3 separate regions of the Homo sapiens genome follow, and regions 2 and 3 are each linked to region 1. The links are contacts of gene promoters, found by promoter capture Hi-C in blood cells and fetal thymus (Javierre and others, 2016). All regions are on one chromosome and are shown on one strand. Each heading gives the region's core, a stretch centred on a gene start or on the middle of the fragment in contact. The rest is flanking DNA. Distances are from core to core; before and after follow the strand shown.

Region 1 (4,543 bases), core at 1,139-3,638:
TAAAGTATAATAAAACAAAGGAAAAAAGTCATAGAAACAAGAAGTTAGATTTTACATTCGAAATTATAAGCTAGAATAACATATGAAAATTCAGGTGTGAGATTCCAATAAACTGAACTATATGAAACTGCTGTGTTTGTAGGTCACAACAGCCAGAAATGTACCACCTTCTACAATTCATCCTAATAGTAGAAGTGTAGTTCTAGGCTATAAGGGACCCAGTATGGGCCCATTCACAATGCACCTGCAGTGCACACGCTTCACGCCTCTGGTGGCCTCCCGAGGGTACTGTACCTGAGCAGAAGCTGTTGCTGCTAACGGTCCTCGCTGAGCGCCCAGAGCTGCTGGGGTTGAACTCTCTGCTCTCTTCCTCAGAGAAAGGAGACTCAGAGGCTGGGGACACTTTGTGCTGTTGTTGGGGCATATGGGGCCGAAGAATCAACCGGGGAATTCGGCTTCGAGAAATCTCCTTGTCATGATGCTGCACTCTGTGCTCCTTCTCAAAATTGGACATCAAAAAAGAAAACAAAAGGAAACGCGTTTCCCTCTCTTAACTCCTGTCGGTTCCTTCAAGGATCAATTTCTAAGAAATCACATTTCTGAGTATTGAGTCTTCACAGAGTAGTCCTTCTTATCTCAGTTGCTGAAATGAGCTTCAAAACTCTTCCAATGAGTTAACCTTTCTAATCTACTGAATAGCACATGTCTGTGTGGCACACACACACACACACACACACACATATACACACCTCCACTCACTAGCTGGAAGGCCATCCTACTTCCCTATGCTGGTCCTGACTCACCTTCCCACCCTGACTTCTATCACATTCAAGCTTCTGCCTCCCAAAGGCTCTTTATTAACACCACACTCTGGCTTACTTGATAGCCTTCAGACTTCCATTTTGCTTTCCCTAAATTAGCTGTGACAGTCTGACTTGTTTTCTTGTCTCCTCACAAAGTTGAACCCTATACCTGGAACAGTTATTTCCTGATAGCTCACACACAATTATCTTTAAAATCCCTCCTCTTCTGGACAGGATCTTAATTATTCGTTAATATCCTGGTACACAAGGCTTGTTGCCAACAGAAAAGCAAACACAAATCCGATACTCGGGAAGATGGCTCCACCTTTTACATCATCTTTAATTTTTGTTTTCCTTACAGGACATCCATAAGAAGAGATTTTTCTTTCTCCTTAAAAACGCAGCATGAAGTACCCTGCCATTTCGTGGTTTTAAAAATGCGTAACAGTAATATTTTCACAATGTTTTCCAACTTATAAAGTGCTTTTCCAACCATTTTCTCATTTGATCTTTACACACCAGACTGTACATAGAGAGCACACCAATGAATGTCCCTATTTTCAGATGAGGAAACAGGCTAAATGGGGTAGAGATGCTTAGGCAATTCTGCACACCATGCCAGAAGTAGAACGAAATTCAAATCCAGTGCTTTGCAGGGTCACCACCACCCTGCCTTATGAAAATGGATTCCTAGGAGGAGCGTTTTGCAAAAATTCCACTGCTTCCTCCAACCTCTGCCACTGAAAGGGACTCTTTGGCTTAGGTAACAAACACCCTTTCGAAACATGACCTACTGTTCCTTCCACCGGCTTACCAGGAAGGGTCACGGCCAAAATAAACACCTCTGGGAGGCCGGCACATGGCATAAATTGAAGGGTAAACCTCAGCAATGGGGAACTTCGGAGGGCCCTCAGGCATCCACTCTACCCGGGGGCCGCCAGCCGCACGCAGCCTCGGATTCGCCCTGCACATCTGCCGCCCAGCAGGTACCATGCGCCAGCCACTCCGCCGGGCACACCGCAGACCCTGAGCTAAGGCAGGGTCACTGACACGCGGGAGTCCTCTTTTCCCAGTCGCGGATGCATCAAATTCCTTTCATTCACATCACACACACAGGATATCAACTGAAAGCTACACCCCACAGTCCCAGTTTCAGGAGGTGGGATTAACCCTCCAATCATGTCATTCTCCAAAATCTATTCCTCCAGTACCACCTCCCCATCTCCTGGATCTCAACTCCTAAGCAATGCCTCCTGCCTTCTCCAGACCCCACCACCACCTCCTTCCACCTTTCCCCAGACTCTAAATGTCACCCCTCCAGCTCTCATCCCGCCGCTTCTCGCCCCGCAGTGCCCGCCTTCCCCGCCCTCCAGTGCCCGCACTGCCCCGCGCTCCTTACCTTGCTCTCGCGGAGGGGCCCCATCGCGCCGCTGCCCGCCGGCTCCTCGCGCCGCCGCTGCCGCCGTCCAGGAGGAGGCACCTGCGAGCACGGAGCGAGGAGACTGCGCTGAGCCGGCGCGGGCTGCGGGCGGCGGCTCTTGGTGAGGCTCCAACGCGCCGCCGCCGCCACTGCCGCCGATTGCTCTGGGCTCCGAGGGCACGCCCGACCCCGCCCCGGCCGGACACGTGGTGCCGCACTCGCTAGAGGCAGCTCCTGGGGCGCCTCCCACGCCCTCCCTCACCTGCGGCCTTCGGGGCAACTCGACCGCGCCTGGGCGCGCCCCACCCGCCCGATTTCCCCACGGCACTCCGCGCCCCCCCAGCCAGAGCCGGTGTCCCTCCCTCTCCAAGGAGCTCGGCCCGGTGTAGGCAGGCTGCGGCTAGCGGCATCTCCAGCCCAGGGGTGACCCCACCCTCTTTTTTTTTTGCACTTGATCTCAGGTTTGAAGTGGGTGGCGTTGGATGGAGTGACTGAGAAAAGCTGCGACATCACAGAGAGACAAAATAGAGAAAGTTTTCCCCTGGCCACCCCTCCTTGGCCTCCAGGTCTTAAGTCAGCCTACAGCTCCCCACAACTGCCTCGCCCGAGAGCTGCAGAGATCCCTCTCGTACCGGAGCCCAGCCAAGCCAGTGCGTCAGGACCGACACAGCCTCTGGGTTCCGGGATCTGAAAGGCTGCGATGGATTCTACTTGGAAGGGGTTGCATCAGAAAGGCCTTCAGTGGTCAGCGCAGCTCCCTCCGGCTTGGAGAAGCCAGGCTGCTATGTAGCCAGAGAACAGTCTTTTCCCCAGCGCTGCCCTGCAGCTGCCCGGCTCCAGGAAGTAGCTCCAGCACACTGCTAAGGGAAGAGCACTGGAATTGAACTCAGAAAAACGAGTTCAAGCCAGCACTCCAATCGGTCCCTTCAGCCTGAGTGCCTTTATGCCTAAAGTTTTTGTTGTTGTTTCGTTTTTTGTTTTTTTTTTTTTCCGTTGCTGTTGAAACGGCATCTCGTTCTGTGGCCCAGGCTGTAGTACAGTGGCGCGATCAGGGCTCACTGCAACCTCTAACTCCTGGGATCAAGGGATCATCCCGTCCAGGCCTCTCAAAGTGCTCGAATTACATGCGGATGCCATTGCATGCGTGGCCTACGCCTACGGTTCTTGACCCTTCTGAACTTCAAATTTACCCTTGTTAAATTGAGGGATAATAATAGTGATACCTACCTCTAGGATAGCTGTGAGGGTTAGGTGAGGAAAACAAACAGCTCTATCCAGCTGATTGAACAGAACTTTCCAAAGGGCAGCTAAGTCAGGTCCAGATGATCCAGTCAATATTTGTTGATGCCTTTTACATGACAGGCAGAAAAAGCATTTGTGATGCACACAAATTTGTTTAAGAAAGCTCGAAAATCTGTCCAACTGGGGACTTAGAATAGGGTACATCAGCTGGGCCAAGGGCCTTGATTTATTACAATTGCTACCCTTAAATCTTATCTGGTGGTGGAATTCACCATGTATAATGACTTATATACCCTTTATTCAGAATTGGAGAATATTCCAAGCAGTGCGACACTCTGATCCTTATGCACCAGTGTCCTACATAGGAGGACTGTGCTCCTCGAAAACTGAGGGTCATTGTCCCCTTTCATCCATCCTCCAAACAGCATTTCTGAGTCCTCAACTCTCAAGCCTAAGAATATATGTTGTGAGTCTAGAGAGAGCCTGAAGCCAGAGGATTAGTGGAATCAATTTCCCTTCTTCCTATAACTCCAAAAGAGAGCTTCCTCCATAAATCTTCATGCCTTTTCAATCTACTTAGCTCTCTCAAGCAGTGAGGTTGGTAATTTTAAGATTCTTTATTTGGGAAGAAGAGGTGATTAATTCATACTTTCTACACCCACAGCTGTTTCAAATATGGACCTCAGGAAAGTGATGGTCCAGGATGATTCATACAACTTATTATTCCTAAAATTATGAGCCTGGGATCATATACTGTGAGATAAGAACAAACTTTTAAAGTTAATGGATGCTTCTGAGTTCCCTACTTAGAATTGAGAATTGACACTGGGGACCTAATAGCAGAAACACCCTCCACTGAGTTAGCCAAGTCAGAACCTCAGTGTCATCGTGGACTTTTTTCTCTCATTCACCTGACCCACACATAGCATAAACCACCAAGTGATCTCTATGCCACCCAAGTAATAACGGTCTTGAATCTGATTACTTCTGTCCACTATTTGTCTCCATTATCTTCGTGTAGAGTGTAAACCACAGTCACCCTAGATTATTGCAATAGTGGTCTAACTCAAGGTCTCTT
Region 2 (4,543 bases), core at 1,651-4,150, 130 kb before region 1:
TAGAAGGGCACTAATTCCATCATGAGGTCTCCCCCTTCACAATCTCATCTAAACCCTATTTCTTCCCAAAGGCTCTCATCTCCAAATATCATCACCTTGAAGATTAGGGCTTCAACATGTAAAATTTGGGGACACAATTCAGTCCATAGCAGTCTCAAGCTGGTATGGTGCACAGCAAGAACTCAAAAACAGTCTAGCTGTAAAACCCATGCACTTAACCATTATGCTATATTTCCTTCTTTTAAATTAAGAGAGTCAGCGTTACTACTTTTTATATATAAATAGTTGTGTCATGAATAAAATGGCATTTATAGCTTAATTTTAATAAATTGTTCACTCTTTTCAAATAACAGATATGGTACCAAGCACAATATCATTCAGAGTTAGGAAAATAGGAACTATCTTCATAGGCAGAGAGTTCCACTAACATATATTGAACCCAGACAAATGCTGAATTGTATAATTAATAGTGGAATAAGGCACTTCGCTTCTTATCACATTTCATTGTGAGGCTTATTAGGAAAAAGAAATTAAAATTTTAAAAGGAGGAGGGCATTTCACAGTAATGAAAAAAGCAGACATAGATATTAATAAAACATTTCCAAAACCCCAAAATATGTATAGATCCACAACACAGGGATATTATTTTGTTCTCCATAGACAGAACGTAATGTAAAGAATTGATAATGTAGGTGCTGAAGAGCCAGAAAACAACTCCGCCACTGCCCTCTTACAGATAAATGTGTGTTTTATGGTAGTGGTAGTGGTGTTTTTCTGAAACAGCGTTGCTTTTAAGTGAACGTTTTGCTTTGGCACTTGGCATGCAAAATAATATCCCTGTGTTATGAACCTATACATATTTTGGGAGTTACCCAAATGTTTATGATCTTTGTCTCTGCTCCTTTCATTACTGTGAAATTCCTTCTTCTTCCTAAAATTTTAATTTCTTTTTCCTAGTAAGCCTCACAATGAAATGTGGTAAGAAGCTACATATCTCATTCCACCACTATTACACAATTCAGTGTTTGTCTGGGCTCAATAAGTGTTAGTGGGTTTGTTAGCTCTTAGAAATTGTTGATACTCTGCCATAAAATCATACATATATTCATTCATTATAATGATCTCAATCACTTTTGTAAAATTCAGTTTCCTAGCAGAATTTGTCTTGCATTAGCCAAACATTTTTCAGGCTGAAATGTAAGCCTGTTTAGTTGGTATAAGATTCTTCTGAGATGTTTTAATGTATACTTCATTTTTATTACACAGTTTTGTCCTTAGTTAAAATAGAAACACTGAATTGTAAATGCTCTTTTAAGAGTTGGCATATAGCACTGTATAAATTAGATAGCTAGTAAAGTTAAATTTATATTTTTAAATTACCAAATGCCTTCAGTCAAGGCTTTAAAATTATGAGCATGTGAATAGGGTTTCAACTACAGTATAGGCTCCTGGGATCATAACTTGATTTGTTTCTCATTTATACTGTGTCTATATAGCTAATTTTTAAAAAACAAACAATGTGTAATGATTATTTGTGGTATTTTTTAAAGGAGTGGCTTTAATTTCGCAGGTCAGTTCTATAAGTGTTTTTGTTTTTAAAAAGGTATGCTTTCTTATGAAAGAATGATAAAGTTGAATTTGGGGGACTTTCTAAATTCAAACAAACATTAAGTAACGCATGTTGATTGTGATAATATAAAATACTTAGCTGTGATGTTCTGGCTTTTTTCCTTCATAGACCAATTCCTTCCTAACCTGGATTCCACTGTCCTTGGTGAAAACTACTTTGATGGAACCTACCAGATGCTTTATCTTTTGGTTAAAGGAACTATACCTGTTGAAATTCACACTGCCACAGTGATATTTGTTTCTTTCCAATTATCTGTTGCAACAGAAGATGACTTTTATACCTCTCACAATCTGGTTAAAAATCTTGCCTTGTTCCTAAAGATACCAAGTGACAAAATCCGTATCAGCAAAATAAGAGGGAAGAGTCTGAGGAGGAAGAGATCCATGGGATTCATAATTGAAATAGAGATTGGAGACCCTCCTATTCAGTTCATAAGCAATGGCACCACAGGTATGAATAACAGGTGTTTGAGATGGAGGAATGCAATTACCAAATCCATATCCATAAATAACCTGATCAGGGCTTGGTGAGCCTGGCCTCAGGAAATCCCATCAACCCCACATCCTGAACCCTCTAAGTGCCCAGAGACCCTTTTTCCTTCTTTGCTCCTGTACTACCAAACTGTTTTAGAATTGGAAGGAATTTGAATCTCTGTTTTGTTATTGTGATGATTAATAAGTTCAACAAAAGAATTTGATCTAATATAAAAAGATCTGGGAAGACCTACTTAAGCAAGTGACCTTACAGATGAGAGATTAAGGATGAAGATAGTCAATGAAAAGACAGAGGAAAAAGAGTGTTCAAGCTATGGAAACTGTTGGTGAGAGTTTGGTGCATTTGAAGAGAGGAAACAGGTCCGATTGGTCTGGAGTGGAAGGAGCCAGGAAGGACAAGCTGCTGGAGGTGTAGCCAAGGGGTAGACAGGTGCTAGATGTGGAAAGCTTTGGAAGTCAAAGGAAGGACTGTGGATGTTTTCTTAAGAAAAAGAGTAAATATTCTTGGATATTCTGAGCAGTAGATTGGTGGGTTAGATTTCCACAGTAAAGTCACAGATTCAGCCCAAAAAGGGCAGATGTGCAAGTACATAATCTGTCTTTATTTCCTGTGACTGAGCGAATCATCCTCACAAGCCATCATCCCCTCTCTGTGTCCCTCACTTCCTATTTTTTATCAGAGATAAAAAAATAAGCTCAACTGTCCCATCAGAGAAATCTCTGCTGGCTGAAATCATTTCCTTAGGGTCACTCAGTTTGGGCACTTGAGTAAATGCTCAGCTCTTCAAATTTTCTCTATCCATCTGCTCCTTTCAAGTTGGGGTCTGAATACCAAGGGGCTGTTCTGGCCTCCGTCCTCATGTTATCATCTTGTCTTCACAGCCTCTGGTACAGAGTGGGTCATCTTCTCTGCTCTACATATGCATCTCTTGAGGTACTACTGAACTTTCCTGGTCTTCTGGGATGCAATAATATCCCCCACTGCTAACCTGCAACCATGCCTTTGTCTTCAGTGGTCAAGCACAAGTACTCTGATCTAGGTGTACCCCTCCCCAAGAACAGGAAAGGCAGGTATCTGTCAGAGGAAGACTTACCATCCAGTTAATGAAGCTTACACTTCAAGCCCCCTCACTGATACAAGTCCTGGGAGGGGCTTTCACTTTCAATACCTTAGGAGAGGTCCTCATAATGTGGTCAAATCATTGAATGTTATTATGAAAGCTACAAAGGTATGATTTTTCTGCATTCCTTTTCCTAAAGAGATCGTCCAGACATATATAAACTGCAGCCCCACTAGGTTGGGATCTACCCTATCTACCTGTGTTCAGTCACTTTATCATTAAACTCCCAGGCTCTGTGTAAACCTGGGTACTGGGTGAAGTTCTCACTTTATGCCACTAGAGATCTTCACTCATTTTCCCAAGAGGTTTGCTTCTAGGCATTGACCCTATGCACCTACCACATTATCACTCTGGAATTCTATCAGCTAAGCAGGTGGAAGTTTCTTCCATTGGGGGGATAAGCCTGTGGGAAGGCTTGCCTGTGTGGAGGGAGGTGTTTATAAACTCTTGGTTAGAAGAGCGTAGGAAGCCTAGGCTTGTGTTGCAACCAGATCTCCCACGATGTTCTCTGCCCAGAGTAATAGTTAACTTTCCTTCGTCAGTTCTGTACTCACTTGGACTTACAGGCTCAGGGTTTGGACTCAGCATGACTTTGCCTGTTATTTTAGGAGTTGTAAAGGGCCCATGGCACATATACAGATTACTCACCTACTCTTAGAAATCCCTGGTGAGCCCTTACGTGTCGTGAGGTCCAAAATTTACCACACTAGCCACTAGATATCCAAAGAAACTGGGATTTATTTCTTACATGTGACATATATTTCCCCACATACAATCCCTCCTACATCCATCCCCTTAAAGCAGTTTTAGCTTGTTAGATTTATCCAGACAGGTATAAGACCACTGAAGAATGTAGAAGTTAGGGATGGTGGGAGGGACAGGCTAATGGCACATTTTCTAGACATAGACTGCGATAGTGTTTCAAGTCTCAAGGAGAACCCTACAACTTGGTGAATCACAGCAAAATGTTGAGAAGTGGCAAGAAAGATGTTCATGTAGTTGTACTCCTGGCTCCTTATAGCTTTTATATAGTATCAGGATATCCAGAAATTCCCAGATGTCCTAGAAAGGGGTTACCTATGTATTAAAGGCATTTATGAGCAGACAGTCCTACAGCCAGGAATAAGAGGCCTTCAAGTTAAGGTCTTTGGTTTCTAGATGGCAATCAGCAGAAATGAATGCCCTCACATGTCGAACGGTCAGCGAGAACCTGTTAACAGTGCAGACTGCATCAGACCTGCCACTCCATGCCAAAAACCAGTGAAGACAAAGTAGTAATAGTAGTGCATGGACCTGAA
Region 3 (4,543 bases), core at 1,450-3,949, 94 kb before region 1:
TATATATTCTGGGTTTAAGTCCCTTATTAGACATATGCTTTGCAAGGATTTTTCTCTCAGTCTGTGATTTGTCTTTTCATTCCATTAATAGTGTTTTTGAATTGTAGTTTTTAATTTTGATAAAATCCAATTTACTAATCTTTTATTTTATGGATTGTGCTTTTGTTGTACTACCTAAAAATCTTTGCCTAACCCAGGGTCACAAAGTTGTGTTGTTTTTTTTTCTTGCAAATTTTGTAGTTTCAGACTACATTTAGGTCTATAATCTATTTTTAATTACTTTTAACTGGTGCCAGATATATATAGAAGGTTTTTGTTTTGATTTTTTCCATATGGATATGGATATCCAGTTTAACCAGCACTTTTTTTTTCTTAATAACTATTCTTTTCTCTCTGAATTACCTTTGCATCTTTATCAGATTTCAGTTTTTGTATATACGTGGGTCTATTCCTTTACTTTCCATTGATCTATTCGTGTATTTTGATTCCAATACTACACAGTTTTGATTACTGAAGCTTTATAACAAGTCTTGAAACCAGATAGTGCTAGCTGTTTTACCTTGTTCTTTTTCAATGTTGTTTTGGCTGTTATATACGTTCTTTGCATTTCCATATGAACTTTAGAAATTAGCTTGTCAAGTTTTAAAGAAAAAACCTGCCCAGATTTTGGTTGAGATTGCCTGGAATCTATAACTCATTTTGGGAAATGTTGATATCTTAATAAAAATATTCTGTCTCTGAAAAAGTCTTTTTAAATTAATAGGCCTTTTAACTGTCTCAGCAATATTTGATAGTTTTCAGTAGTCAAGTCCTTAATTAGATTTGTCCTCAAGTATCATTTTTTTATGCCTATATAAATTTTTTTAACGTTTCAATTTCTTATTGATTGTTGTTAACGTATAGAAATACAATTAATGGTAGATCCCGTTGAATTTTCCACATAGAATATCACACTTTTATTTCTGCCTTTCCATTCTGGATGCCTTTTATTTCTTTTCTATTTTTTTCTTTTTTCTTTTTTTTTTTTTTTTTGCTGGATTGCATTGGCCAGAACTTCCACTACGATGTTGACTAAAAGTAGAAAAAGCAGACATGCTTGTGTTGTTCATGATCTTAGGGAGAAATTATCAAATTTTTTTACCATTAAGTCTCATATTACTGTAGGTTTTTCATAGATGTTTTTGATCAGGTTGAGAAAGTTCCCTTATACTTTGCTGCAATTTTTTTTTTTAACAGGAATGGATGTTGAGTTTTGTCAAAGGCTTTTTCTGTCTCTATTGAGATGTTTATATGGTTTTTTGTTTTTAGTTTGCTAATATAGTGAATGACATTTGATTTTTAAATGTTAAACCAATCCAACATTTCCAAACTAAGCACCAGTTTTTCACAATGTAGTATCCATTTATATATTGTTGGATTTAATTTACTAATATTTGGCTAAGGAGATTTGTGTCTAGATTCATAGAATATTAATAGTTTTCTTTTCTAGTAATATCTTTGGATTAGTATCAGTGTAATACTGGCCTCAAATAATGAGTTGGGGAAATATTCCTTCTTCAGTTTTTTGGCAGTTTGTATAGAATTGGTATTATTCCTTCCTAAGTGTTTTGTAGAATTTACCAGTGAAGCCATCTGTGTCTGGGAGATTTTTATAACTACAAATATAATTTCTTTAATAGATATATAGATTTTCAGGTTGTTCTTCTTATGCTTTAGTAATTTGTGTCTTTCAGGGAAGTTGTCCATTTCATCTCACTTGTCAAGTAAATACAGGCACAAAGGTGTTTGTAATAGTTCTTCAGTATCCTTTTAATATCTGCAGACTCTAACAATGTTATCTGTCTTGTTTATGATATTGGCAAAAGTCTGTTATTAAGGACACGTGTTTTAGATTGTTATGTACTTTTTATTAATTGACCCCTTTATCACTGTGAAATGACCACTTTTATACCTGGTAATGTTATTTTTCCTATAATCTGTCTAACATTGAAATAGTCACTTCACCTTTCTTTTGATTAGTGCTAGCATAGTATATTTTCTCCTATCCTTTTACTTTTAACCTATTTGTGTCTTTTTATTTAAAATGCATTTCTCATTGGCAACATGGAGTGGGGCGGTCTTTCTTTCTTATTCAATCTAACAATCTCTGCTTTTCAATTGGAATGCTATACAATTTGCATTTAATGAGATTATTGATATGGTTAGATTTACGTCTGTCATCTTATTTGTTTTTGGCTTGTCCCATGTGTTATTTGTTCTCTTTTCTTTGTTTCCTGCTGCCTTTTCAATTGAGTAGTTTTTATCTCCCTGCTTGTCTTATTGGTTATGACCAGTCCTTGCCCCTCAGAATATATGATTTAATGGACTTACTAGAGGTACTCCTAGGTATTGGCATTTCTTTAATAGATTCCCAGATTTGTGAACCACTGGACTAAATGAGCTCCATGGTAACTTTCAATTTACTAGCTATGTGACTTTGGTCAAGTTATTTGACCTCTCTTAATTCAATTTCCTCATCTATAAAATGGATATAAGGAAATATATTCATCTGCAAGTTAAAAATATTTAAAGTATTTTAAATAGTATTATGTTCATGTGGTTCAAACTTTAAAAGGTACACAGAGATTTAATATATTCTATTTTATACTTTTTTATTTTTTGAATTGTAGATTTTTGTATTAATAGATTTAGGTAAAATTATTTTCAAAAACTCAGAATGAAGGGTTTTATCCTTACAACCATTGAAAACTCGAAAACCTGGTTTTTGACTTGTTAATATGATTTAAATTATAATTTTAAAATTTACTGTGTTATAGTTTCTAGAGAAAGGTAAAAAATATCTTAGATTTTTCTTAGTGCATAATAGGTCTTTTCAGGACAGGAGTATGACTTTTGAAATCAATTTAATGCATTTTTTGTTTTGTGCCTCTTCCACAGGTTTTGATTCCCACCATGGCCATCACCCAGTTTCGGTTATTTAAATTTTGTACCTGCCTAGCAACAGTATTCTCATTCCTAAAGAGATTAATATGCAGGTAAATAAGTTTTATGTTCAAACTAACCTGTTTATCTCCTCGCTGGTTTTGGATACCTTCAAAACTTCAAATTTCGTGGACAGGACAGGTTATATTTAAGCTGAATATCTTGATTGCAGTATTTATTCATTAATTCCTAGTCATTTTTAGATACTTTTTCTCTACTTCAGATCTAGAAAATAGAGGTTCAGTTGTTTTGTTCATTCAAATTCTTACACTTTCCACTAAAATAACATGCTTAATACTATTTAGGAATAGACAGACCAACTTTCATTATTATAATCATCACAGAACTTTGATGTATTCGTTTCATTATGGGAATGTTTTAAAGTGGTTAGGTGAAATTCGGAATAGGTATTTCTGTCTATACTACAATAGTGTTGTTTTTATATTTAAAAAAAAATCCTAAGAAAAATCCTAAAAAAAAAAAATTTTTTTTTCTGTTTGAGTAACATTCTAGAATATGCAGGAAGTCAAGAGCAGGTAAGTCATTTGCTTTAGGACATCATCTGTAGACTTCAGTTCCTTCTGTTTTGTCACACGATCATACCCAAGAGCTATGATGTCTAAAATGTGTGCTGAGGCACCTCAGGGCTTTACATGAAATTCACAGGGATGCCATAGAATATTTTAAATTTTGCAGTGAAACATAGTGATAGCATCTGTTGAATACCTCAACTCAAAGTAGTTCACATTTGCAACATTAAATCCTGCAGTATTTTTTTATGATGGTGTTCTTTAATGTTTGAGATAAGTTTTTGTTTACTTATATTTTTGGTGACATCTCATTGCAAAGCCAGGATTTTAGGTTGTAATTAAAAGCGAGTACTGCACCAAAATTAATGTAGAACTGAAAACAAGAATGATGGTCTCCAGTCTTATTCTAAGGCATAAGAAGCTGTGCAGTGTTCAACAGGCACACAAATTTCATTAATAAGTTCAGTGATTGTGGTTATTTAAGAATAAAATAAAAATATTACTTTTTCTTTAAATGTGTATTTTTTACAATGGCTACTAAGCAGTTAGGATATACTTAAGTTTTTTGGGTGTAACTACCTTATTCAGTGGAATTGTTAGGTGTTTCTGTGGCCTAAGGGTACTGTGAAAAAGTTACTTACATACTAAGAGGAGGGTATAGTAAAAGAGGAAATGGACAGCAATCAGCTCTTTTTTTAATATATATAGACATGACTTAGAGGTTACACACAACAATTTTTGCACTGCCTGCTTTCCAGAGCTTAGTCATATGGCCCCCTAGCTGCAAGGAAGGATAGGAACTGCAGTCTCTGGCTATATGACCATTTGATAGCTGCTAAATTGAACTTATTGCTAAAAGTAGAGTGGTCTGGGATTTAAAAAAAAAAAAAAAATCCAGGGTATTGCAAGAGAACAAGTGGGTGAAATGATCATCTCTGGATGATCACTGGGGCAGAAGTGAAGAAAGAAATGGAAAATTTAGGTGGTTGACTTGAAATCACCCAAGAGGATAGGATTTGGGAAGTAGAAAA

The links. Contacts are between HindIII fragments. The CHiCAGO score rates a contact against its expected background, and 5 or more counts as called.
Region 2: a fragment that was not itself captured here is called in contact with the fragment with the promoter of SYBU in region 1 in 2 of 17 cell types (total B cells and naive B cells); the score reaches 9.5 in total B cells.
Region 3: a contact is called between a fragment that was not itself captured here and the fragment with the promoter of SYBU in region 1, in 2 of 17 cell types (total B cells and naive B cells). The highest score is 9.1, in total B cells.

Annotation. Positions count from the first base shown.
Region 1 is chr8:109,642,434-109,646,976 of GRCh38, forward strand. It overlaps SYBU (syntabulin), which reads right to left and starts at 2,389. Exons shown (of 7, transcript NM_001099754.2): 1 at 2,203-2,389; 2 at 295-499. The coding sequence starts at 2,226. It overlaps SYBU-AS1 (SYBU antisense RNA 1), which reads left to right and starts at 1,696. Exons shown (of 2, transcript NR_161375.1): 1 at 1,696-1,789; 2 at 2,685-4,543. RefSeq lists a silencer at 2,154-2,643 and enhancers at 2,156-3,092, 2,754-3,073. The HindIII fragment of the contact is 4,274 bases long and covers 832-4,543 here.
Region 2 is chr8:109,516,429-109,520,971 of GRCh38, forward strand. PKHD1L1 (PKHD1 like 1) reads left to right here. Exons shown (of 78, transcript NM_177531.6): 73 at 1,739-2,080. Among named protein-coding and RNA genes, the nearest start is that of EBAG9UORF, 21 kb to the right of the region's middle. The HindIII fragment of the contact is 663 bases long and covers 2,570-3,232 here.
Region 3 is chr8:109,547,873-109,552,415 of GRCh38, forward strand. EBAG9 (estrogen receptor binding site associated antigen 9) reads left to right here. Exons shown (of 7, transcript NM_004215.5): 2 at 2,938-3,035. The coding sequence starts at 2,953. Among named protein-coding and RNA genes, the nearest start is that of EBAG9, 10 kb to the left of the region's middle. The HindIII fragment of the contact is 4,370 bases long and covers 515-4,543 here.